3 separate regions of the Homo sapiens genome follow, and regions 1 and 2 are each linked to region 3. Evidence: promoter capture Hi-C in 16 types of primary human blood cells and fetal thymus (Javierre and others, 2016). All regions are on one chromosome and are shown on one strand. Each heading gives the region's core, a stretch centred on a gene start or on the middle of the fragment in contact. The rest is flanking DNA. Distances are from core to core; before and after follow the strand shown. Region 1 overlaps NRG2 (neuregulin 2). Region 2 overlaps NRG2 (neuregulin 2). Region 3 holds the start of PSD2 (pleckstrin and Sec7 domain containing 2).

The links. The method cuts DNA at HindIII sites, captures the fragments that hold promoters and counts their contacts. A CHiCAGO score of 5 or more calls a contact.
Region 1: a fragment that was not itself captured here is called in contact with the fragment with the promoter of PSD2 in region 3 in 9 of 17 cell types (M1 macrophages, naive CD8 T cells, M0 macrophages and 6 more); the score reaches 6.7 in M1 macrophages.
Region 2: a fragment that was not itself captured here is called in contact with the fragment with the promoter of PSD2 in region 3 in 1 of 17 cell types (M2 macrophages); the score reaches 6.0 in M2 macrophages.

What each region holds. Positions count from the first base shown.
Region 1 is chr5:139,864,043-139,867,349 of GRCh38, forward strand. NRG2 (neuregulin 2) reads right to left here. Exons shown (of 10, transcript NM_004883.3): 5 at 1,507-1,583. Among named protein-coding and RNA genes, the nearest start is that of PSD2, 70 kb to the left of the region's middle. The HindIII fragment of the contact is 942 bases long and covers 1,462-2,403 here.
Region 2 is chr5:139,914,789-139,918,133 of GRCh38, forward strand. The region is part of intron 1 of NRG2 (neuregulin 2); the gene reads right to left. Among named protein-coding and RNA genes, the nearest start is that of PSD2, 120 kb to the left of the region's middle. The HindIII fragment of the contact is 537 bases long and covers 1,545-2,081 here.
Region 3 is chr5:139,794,056-139,797,386 of GRCh38, forward strand. PSD2 (pleckstrin and Sec7 domain containing 2) reads left to right here and starts at 1,753. Exons shown (of 15, transcript NM_032289.4): 1 at 1,753-1,920. RefSeq lists a silencer at 1,272-1,471. The HindIII fragment of the contact is 8,840 bases long and covers 1-3,331 here.

The DNA.
Region 1 (3,307 bases), core at 683-3,182, 70 kb after region 3:
AGTTCTACCTCCCAGTATCCAGTGCCATGTGGACACTTGGTTCCACACTCCTCATGGGGCCCAGCTGTCCTCCCTGGAGAAGAGGAGGTCGGGGGGCACGCAGGGGCCTAGCCTGCTCTGCAGGATGGGATGGGTAACTGGGGACAGGCCTTGCAAGCCAGCGGACCCCTGGTCCTCAAGCAGAATCAATGGCCGGCCAGAGGCTTTTTGTTCTGCTCCACCTCCACCTGGTGGTGCTGGAAGGAACTGCTCTCAGGCCCCAAATAAAAGCACTCCATAATTATGGCTGGGTCCTTGGGCCTCGGGGCTCACTTTTCTTTCTTTCTTCTCCTTCTTCTTCTTCTTTTTTTTTTTTTTTTGCAAACTGTGCAAAAGGGAAAGCTCCAACCTCATAAGTTGAAGAAAGGAAGGGAATAAAATCCTAGATGGGAGGATTCAGACCACAGAGGTGCTGAGAGAGTCACCAGTTACCCCTCAATTCCTCATTTCCTCAACTTTTTAGCATCTCCAGCACCAACCCCCGCCCCCTCTCCCACCATCCTGTAGCCACATAAATATCTCTGGTATTCATGGAAATCATTGCCCTGGGTCCTGCTCTCCCTTAATTCCCCTTCCTTCCCTCTACCCCATTTCCAAACCCTCAAAACAAACAAACTCTGGCCAGACTGGAAAATGGGCTTTCTGAGAACTTTTTTTCTCTCTCAAACACGTCGGCACACACACACACACACACACACTCACTGCCAGACCCTTTGGTACCCTCAGGCAGCCTTCGGAGCAGGGGAGGGCTCTGCAAATGCTTCCTCCCATTCTGGCCAGGCTGCCCGACCCCAGAAGTTGGGAGGAGGCCTGGGTGTGGCCCTGGCTGCTGCAGAGAGAACTTGGCATTACTGTGCCCAGGAGGTACAGCCCACATGTGGAGGTGGGGGTGCCGGGGGTGTTTCCGTCTCCTCTAAGGAGCGCAGGACACCCTCTACATCTCCCCCTAGTCTTGCTAAGCAAGGCCCCATCCCTCCCCAGGGGGAGACTGTCAGTCACCAGGGAAGAGAAGAAATAGAAGAAAGAGACATACTGGAGAAGTTGACCATTGCGAACTGCTGACACCTGTCCCCGGTGTATCCCACAGGACACCTACCAAAAGAAAGAAAACCAGAAAGAGAGAGCCAGGATAGCAAGACACAGGCATTGCAACACCCCGGCACGGGCTCCTGCCAATGCCAGCTGGGTTCCTTGCCACCGTTACCATTTGTATTGGCCTTGCCACTCTGCCCCTTACCTGCAGCCCTGAACTTTAAACCCAAGGATTAGGCCAAAAATGAAAACAAAGCAAAACAAAACAAAACAAAAAGAACTAACAAACCAAAATACAAAAAAGAAAAGAGAAACAAAACAAAACAGCCAAAGATCAAAACAACCAACACCCCTGGCCCTATGCCCTACATTGGGGGGACTGCACCCAGAAGCTTTCTAAGGAGCAGGGACTTGTGTTTGTATCTTCAAACATACTTTGCTTAGGATCTGGCATGTACAATCGCAAAGGCAGTTTCTCCAAACATCTCTGTCCGAAGAATCCATTTGGACATCTGGAGAAGGAAAAGGGGAAAAATCACAGAACAAACTGGCATCATCCGCGAGGCTAAGGTTAGAAATCAAAGTGCACAGTGATGAATGAGAAAAACCAAGTCAGGCACTTGGGGTCATACTTGTAGCTGAAGGGACTGGAGTCAGGGCTGGGTGGAGGGCTCTGAAATCTCCTTAAAAATCTGTCTCATAGATGTGGCTCCATGGGTGGTGGGGAAGGTGGGGTGGGTCAGGGGGAGGATGATTTAGGTAAGTGGGGTGAGGGAAGATGGGAAATTGTCCTACTGGTCATTGAGACTTTCCTTCTTACCTGCCTGGTGCCCCATGAAGCAAGCACTGTGGCCTCTTGGTGCCAGGCAGTCAGTCAGCTGGCAGGGATCTGGGAGCCTTAAGGAATACCAAGTTCTTGGGAGCTACTCCTCCCAGGACCGACTGAAGGATTCTCTCCTGGGCCCTGGGCAGGTTTTCTCATCCAAGAAACAGCCCCCAGGAAACTCAGATAACTCGGGAATGCTGTTCCCAGACTGTGTATGTCTTTGACAAAAGTGACCTAAGAGATGTTTTATCTGTTCTTTCAAAGAGGGTTCTGTGGCCAAATCAATGTAGGAAATACATTCTCAGGGTGCCTTGTAGAGTTGCAGTGTACCTTCACCTATGAAAGACTATGAAAGTTTCATAGGAGGAAATAGCTGAACTTTCCATGTAAGTTCTCAAATTTATTTGTGTTTCAAATTTACTTCACCATGGATGTTGTTTTTTGAGGAACCCTTGTGGTAGAACATGGTTTGGAATAGGCTGCCCCAGTGTGATGTACATGGGAAAAGCTTAGTAGGGAAATGGGAAGTTGGAGAGGAGCTGGAATTATCAGCATCCCAAAGTGGGCCTTCCTGATACCAGGTGCAGGGAATCTGGCCTCAGGTAGCAAGGACCACAAAAGGGATTGGAGCAGGCTCGCTGGGGGACCCTGGAAGCCTGGTCCACATCAAGGTCCTAGTGGCAGCCAGCCTGCGAAACTCTTCCATTTCCCCATGACCTGTTTCTCCATCACTGCCTGGACCTGCCCTGGATCTCATTCTCTGATCTTGCCTTGCTTACAGCTCTAAAGCACCCCCCACTCAATCTCCCTGACCTTGTCTCTACCCACAGGGTACACGTTCTTCTGCTCTCTGGCTGCCAGCCCTCTCCTCAAGCGAATCTCAGATTTCTTGCAGAAGTCTTGCAAATTTCTGGAGGACATGCCCAGCCCTGTACTCTCTTCTGAACCCCGGCAAGGCTGGATACCTAAGGAGAAGCTTACAGGGAGGGCTAGACCCCTTCCCCACATCTCCCTACTCAGAGATGGGTCTATATTGCCTCTGCATCTTCTTCCTTAGGAAATTAGCTAAGTTCATCACCAGTGTCCCCCTCAATAATAGGCTACTGTTCAAAATTAATCAATGTAAACTTCCTCAAGAGGCAAGTGTACTCTATTTCTTAGCATTGCAGTATATAGCAACTGTCAGGAAGCCACTTAGGCTTACAGTAAGTGGCAGCCATTGGTTGTGACAGATACTCATGAACACCCTGTGACCTCAAATCTGGAGGAGTGGGGAATGGGAGTGGTAGTTGAGCAGAGGGCTAGAGTTTCTCTGGGCCTTGATGGCATCTCCCCCAGGGGAGGCAGGAGGTTTGTCCTGTAGTGGTAGGAGTGTGTGTGTGGGTATGCCTGGCTAATTGGGGGGTGGTG
Region 2 (3,345 bases), core at 563-3,062, 120 kb after region 3:
GCCCCTGAAAACATGCCCATGTTGGGCTCAGCTTGCCCTACAGCTCCCAGTTCCTTCACTCCAGGTCTAAAGAAGTGGACACACAGCACCACTGGCTCCACTTAGGTGGGGGCCATTGTAGGCCCCCCAGCTGGTTACAGGGGCCACCACAACCTTGTACCTTCCATTGCTCTCTATTCTTCCCTCCCAGTGAGCCTTGGCCTTTGTCACCTCATCTTTCCCATCCTCAAGGTTGCGATCCCTGCACTCCCATACATGGCCCCAGGGTGTGGCTCCAGTAATTCAAGGGGGAAGGGGCTGTGGGAGAAAAGACCAAATTATAATTAATGGTTTGTTTCCCATTAAGCTTCTTTCAGACAAACCGGCTTAATGTAATTACGGAAATGGTTGCAAGGGGGCTCTTGTTGTGCTGTAAAATCATTATCTGACAATCATAATTTTATTTTTAAGAGCTTATTACCAAATAGGCTGTAAATGGCTTTCCAGCCTTCTCTTTTCCTACTGAGATGGGGTGATTTCGTGGACACAGTACAGAGGACAATGGGATTGGGAGAGCATTTCTGCTTGGGGTCACCAGTTGAAATGAGGATTCAATTCAGCAGTTTCCAGCCTCTGTAAGGAAGTGGCGCCAGCTAAGCTGCCAAGACTTGACAGGTTGGGTGGTGGCCAGGGTCCCCCAGGTCCTGCTTACATTCCACTGGTGCCTGATGCAGGCCCCTGATCTCTGGATTACCAGGAAGGATGCTGAATTCCTCAGAGGAGATTGCTACCAGGATTTTATTCCCAGTACTGCACTCTGACCAGGTGTCAGGCTGCACTGCCTGATCTACAGGTGTTTTCTCCGTATATTGTCTGTATATTCAGACAACTCTGAATATTGTCATTCAATTTACAAGTAGCAGAACTGTATAGCTTAAAAGATTATGAAAGGCTGTGTGGTAAATTCTAGACGATCAGCTAGTTAAAATGAAAGGAAGGATCATGGTGACATTTGTATCGCAAAAGATGAGCTGAGAGTACAGGAGATGCTTTCCTGGAATATGGGACAGCCTGGCAATGACACTGAGTGGGAATCCACAAAACAGGTTCAGAGAATGATGAATATTACATTTTGACTGACATGTAGGAAGTCATGGAGATAAGGCTAAAAAGACTGGGTGGGAACCAGGCTGCCCAGAGCACCTGGAGCTCATGCTAAGGGAATGAAAGGATATTGAAGGGTTCTGAGCAGGAAGGTGACCCAACCCAAACTATACTCTTGGAGGCTCATCCAGCAGCGTCATGCAGGGCAGAATGGAGCAGAGTCTGGAGGCAGCAAGATTGATCAGCAAAATGTTTAACAATGGGGTGTAGCCTGCAGCCTCTGTGGGGTGCTTGCTACAAATGCAAGTACCGATCCCACGAAAAACATTCTGAATTACAGTCTCTGGGGTGCAGCCAGGACTTGGTATTTGTAACTATTGTGAGGCAGACGGTATATGAAGCACACTTCGAGAAAACTGGTCCCAGAGAATCCAGTCCTCACTGCTCAACTTGGCATTTAAAGCTTTCTGTAAAATATCCCCACCATCAATTTTCCCCTTATAACTGCATTTTTAAGGTTAATTGGGATATAATTCACATGCCATGCAAATGACCCATTTAAAGTATATAATTCACTTTTGTGGTCTATTCACAGAACTGTGCAGCCATCACTGCAATAAGTTTTGGAACATTTTCATCATCCCCAAAAGAAACCTCGTACTCTTTAGCACCCCCTCCCCCTGCCATCCCCTTCATCCCCTGGCAACCACTGATTGACTTTCTGTCACCACAGATTTGCCTGTTCTGGAAACTTCATATAAATGGAATCATACAATCTGTGGCCTTTCTTGACTGCCTTCTTTCACTAGGTATAATGTTTTCCAGGTTCATCCATGTTGTAGCATGGATCAGTATTCATACCTTTTTTGTGGCCGAATAGTATTCCATTATATGTATATATACCAGATATTATTTATATGTTCATCAGTTGATGGACATTTGGATTGTTTCTACTTTTCGGCTATTACAAATAATACTTCTATGAACATTTGTGTATAAGCTTTTGTGTGGACATGTGCTTTCATTTATCTTGGGTATATATATTATCTGAAATCCCACTTGGAAGTAAGATTGCTCAGTCATATTGTAACTCTACGTTTAATCATTTGAGGAACTGCCAGATCGTTTTCCAAAGCAGCTGCACCATTTTGCATTCCCACCAGCAGTGTATGAGGGTTCCAGTCTCTCCACATTCTCATCAACACCTGTTATTATCTGACTTTTTGATTCTAGCTATCCCAATGGATGTGAAATGGTATCTTGTGATTTTTTTAAAAGCAGCTTTATTGAGGTATAATTCACATACCATACAATTCACCCATTTAAAGTGTACAATTCAATGGTTTTTGGAAAGTACATTACTTTATTGTCATTTTGTTTCATTTTTTTTGTTTTTTTGAGACAAGGTCTCACTCTGTCACCCAGGCTGGAGCACAGTGGTGTGATCACGGTTCACTGCAGCCTTGACCTCCCGGGCTCAAACGATCCTTCCACCTCAGCCTCTTGAGTAGCTGGGACTACAGGCATGCACCGCTGTGCCTGGCTAATTTTTGTATTTTTTGTAGAGACAGGGTTTTGCCACATTGCTCAGGCTGGTCTAGAACTCCTGGGCTCTAGTAATCTGCCCACCTCAGCCTCCCAAAGTGCTGGGATTACAGGTGTAAGCCACTGTCCCCAGCCTTATTATTGTTTTGATCTGTATTTCCCTGATAACTAATGATGTTGAGCATCTTTTTTTGTACATATTGGCCATTTGTATGTCTTCTTTGGGGAAATGTTTATTCAGATCCTTGACTCATTTTTTCCCCAGTTTTATTGAGGTATAATTGACAAATAAATTGAATATGTTCATTTTTAGTTGGGTCATTTATCTTTTTATAATTGAATTGTAAGAGCTCTTTATATATTATGGATACAACTCTCTTATCTGATAAAATTTTTGCAAAATTTTTCTCCCAATCTGTGGGTCGTCTTTTCACTTTCTTGATGGTATCCTTTGAAATGCAACATTTTTTAAAATTTTGATTAACTCTACTTTAACTATTTTGCTGTTGTTGCTCATGCTTATGGTGTCATATCTTAGAAACTATTACCTAATTGAATGTCACAAAGATTTATGCCTATTTTTTCTTCTAAGAGTTTTGTGTTTTAAGTTCTTACTGTTAAGTCTTTGACCCATGTTGGGTTAATTTTTGTATACGGTATGAGGTATTCTTTTGCGCGTGGATATTCCATTGTCCCAGCACAATTGTGAAAGAGACT
Region 3 (3,331 bases), core at 503-3,002:
AGCAGGGAAGCCAAGCTCCCTCTGTGCCCTTTAAGATCCTGGGCACCTGCACAGAGAGTGGCTCCCTTGTTTCTGGGCTCTGCGGTAATGTCCTAGGGTTTGATGGGCAGTGAAGGATGTGGTCTGAGTGCCCTCTTAATTGACCAGCTGTGCTCACAGATTCAGATCTCCTGGGATCATGAGCAAGTGACTTATGCTCTCCAAGTCTCAGTTTTCTCATCTGTAAAACGGGTTGTAGGATTGTTTTGAGAATTAAATATGACACATGAAGAGCACTTGGTAGATGCTTGGTTGTCAGAGGTGTCACCATGGTTGATGAAGTCCCAGCTCCTGCTGTTGCCCAGCTTGAAGGGAGGGAGACTACGCACAGCTCAGATTCCACACCTCCAATTACTGCCACCCTAAGAGGTCAGCAAATCCTCTTCCTGCTCCCTAAGAAGAGTCCATGTTTGTGTGTTCATGGGTGGAAAGAAGGTCAGAGAAGACTTCATGAAGGAAGGGGCATTTAAGGAGGAATTTGAGGGTTCAGTAGGAGTTCACTGAGCACAGCAGGATCAAGGCCCCACCGGGCAGAGTGTGGATCATCTGCTGAGGTCTGGAGATGGAAGCAACTGGGTGTGGTGAACCCCCCAGGGGCTGGAGTAGGGGAGAGGGGTAGAAAGTGGCCTCCAGTGGCAGGGCCTGACTCTATCCTGATTTCCCTTCTCCCAGGCACTGGGCCTGCTCCCCACGCCCTCCTTAGATCCCTGTGGGTGGGGGCCCTTTAATGCCTCTCTGAGAGGCGGACTCTTACTCTGCAGGTGCCTCACAGCCAGGAAGTTCTTAATGTCTAGCCCAGGTACAGCCAGTCAACCCTCTTCTTCAGTTAGAGTCCTGGGCTGAGGGGGGCGGCTTCAGGGCCTTGACTTGCCCTTGGGGAGACACCGTGGGACAGGTGCCTTGGGAGATGGTTTCCTCTGCCCAGGGCACCCTCTGTCTCTCTCTGTCTCCTTATATCTGCCCAGGGAGGCTTCCCCTTGACCTGGCACAGGGATGTGGATTCTTGGTTGGACCCACCCCTCACCTCCCGCCTCCCTCAGGTTCTTTCTCCTTTGTCTCTTTCTCCTCTCTCCTGCCTCCTCCCATCCCACTCTGTCCCGAGGCTCCTTCTCACCCCACAGCCCAGGTCTCCGTCCCGTCCCGTGTGACTCTAGGTCTCAGGGGCTCAGTCTCCCTCTCTGAGATTCTTCACCTTGGCCCCCCGCACTCCCTGCTCCTCCCTTGGCGGCGTCTCCCGGGGGCTGGCGTGTGTGTCGGGGGGCTGGGGGCAGGGGTCACTCCCTGAACAGACCGCGGGAGGAGGGCCAGGACCCGCCCCCTCCTTCACCTCCAGGGCCTGGCGGGTCCCGAGAGCTCAGGTTCTAGACCGGTGGGTCCTGCCTGGAGGGCGGAGGTGGTTGGGTCTGCCCGAGGGTTCGAGGACGGCAGGGGCCCAGCGTGGCTAGGAGGGGGCAGAACCCCGGGCGCTCCCCTCCCCCCCTTTCTTAAAGGGCCCGCGCGGGGCAGAGGGGGACAAGGTGGGCCGCGCTCTCCCCGGCACGCTCGGGGTCCCGGGGCGAGCGCTGCGCTGCAAGCGGACAGGGCTGGGGGCCGCGCTTCCCTCCGGGCTCCGCGCCCGCCGCTCGCGCGCCCGCAGTGCCCCCGCCCTTCCCCGCCCTTCCCGCTCCTCCCTCCTCCTCCTCCTCCAGCTCACGGCTCCGCTCCCTCCCTCCTGCCGTCCGTCCCCCTCGCTCAGCCTCTCCACATCGCGGCTCCGGCACCTGAAGGGACGCGGGCGGGCGCGGGCAGCTCCGACCGGCGGCGGCGGGGCGGGACAGGCAGCCCGGCGGCCTCCGATGGCCCCGCCGTGAGAGGCCGGACCCGCGGCGGGGACCAGCAGCGGTGAGTGGGGCCGCGGGGCTCCGGGACCCGCCCCTCCCCGCTGGCGGCCAGGCCGGGGCGGGACGGGCCGGGGAGAGGGCCGCGTGCGGGTGGGGGGCGTCGCCCTCGCCCTCGGTGCCCACCCGGGTCCGCTAACAAAGCTACATTTCCAGATCAATTCCGCGGCGTCTGGAGCATCCGAAGGATACGGTTGTCATGGAGATGGGGCCGAGAGAGGAAGCCCGGGCTGGCCGGGTCTGGGCCGGGGAGAGGGGGCGCCGCGGGAAAGCCCGAGCCCAGCCTGAGGGACGGTGGGGGCTGCCGGGCCGATTGTCTCCCGGCTCCGCCACCCACTACCCTCTCCCCGCTTTTGTATAATCTGGGGGTACGCGTGTGCGTGGGGGGTGCCAGTGGCAGCCTGGTGGTCGGGGATCGGGGCATTGGGTACCGGGGCCTGCCGGCAGCCACCTTCACGAGGCTGCAGCTTTGAGGATTTATTTCTGTTTCCAGTTTCCCAACTTTGACAGCCCTGCTTGGCGGCCAGGCCTCCCCGGCTCTGCAGCTAGAGCGGGGGCTCGCACGGGGGCGTGGCAGTCAGGGCTGAGGAGGCACATAATGGCCGAGGCGGCAGCGGGAGGGAGGGGTCCCAGGAGCGGGCTGCTGGGGCTGGGTGCAGAGGGAGTCCAGACTGGGGACAACCCTGCCCAGCGGGCCCCCTCGGAGGAGGAGGTATTCAGCTGTTCCTAGAGGATGCAGGGACTCCCCGGAATGATCACTGGGGGCATTGTTTTTGCATAGGCCCAGGGGGCCACTGTCTCAAGCCCACCCCTTTGTCTTGGGGCCATCTTGGGGGGGCCAGGAAGAGAACAGGGAGCAGAAGCAGCAGTCACAATGGAAGAGGGCCTAAGACTCCTGGCAGCCTGGGGATAAGCCAGGCTGAATTTGATGGGGATCAGCGAGAGGGCTCAGGATTTGGCCAGGGCAGGTGGGCAGCCTGGGTTTGGACTTTCCTGGGTTCCCCAGTTCCTTTTTCTAGATCCTACAAACAAGAGCTGCTTAATAGTGGTTGGGGGTGGGGGGGTTCACTGGGCTGGGACTGCCTCCAAACCCAACCCGTGGCCCAGGGCAGTTGCAGTCGTTCTTTCATTCTTCCACCCTCTCCCCAGGACTTTAGGAACCTGTCTCCCAGGGAAGCTACAAGTTCTGGGGCCTGGGATCTCCGAATCAGTAAAATGTGCCTGCTGTCCTCCCAGCAGCCCCTTTCCCCAATATATGCGGGAAGCAGGGAACAGGGGCTTTTGAGTGGGGCTACTGCAAAGTTTGGTCCTGGTGGAAACATAGCAGGTCCCTAGGGTTTGGCCAGAGCCCCCAAAAGATTCCCACGCAGTGGGGTGAGTAGGTGGGTGTGGCCCAGCTAAAGGAGGATGACTGG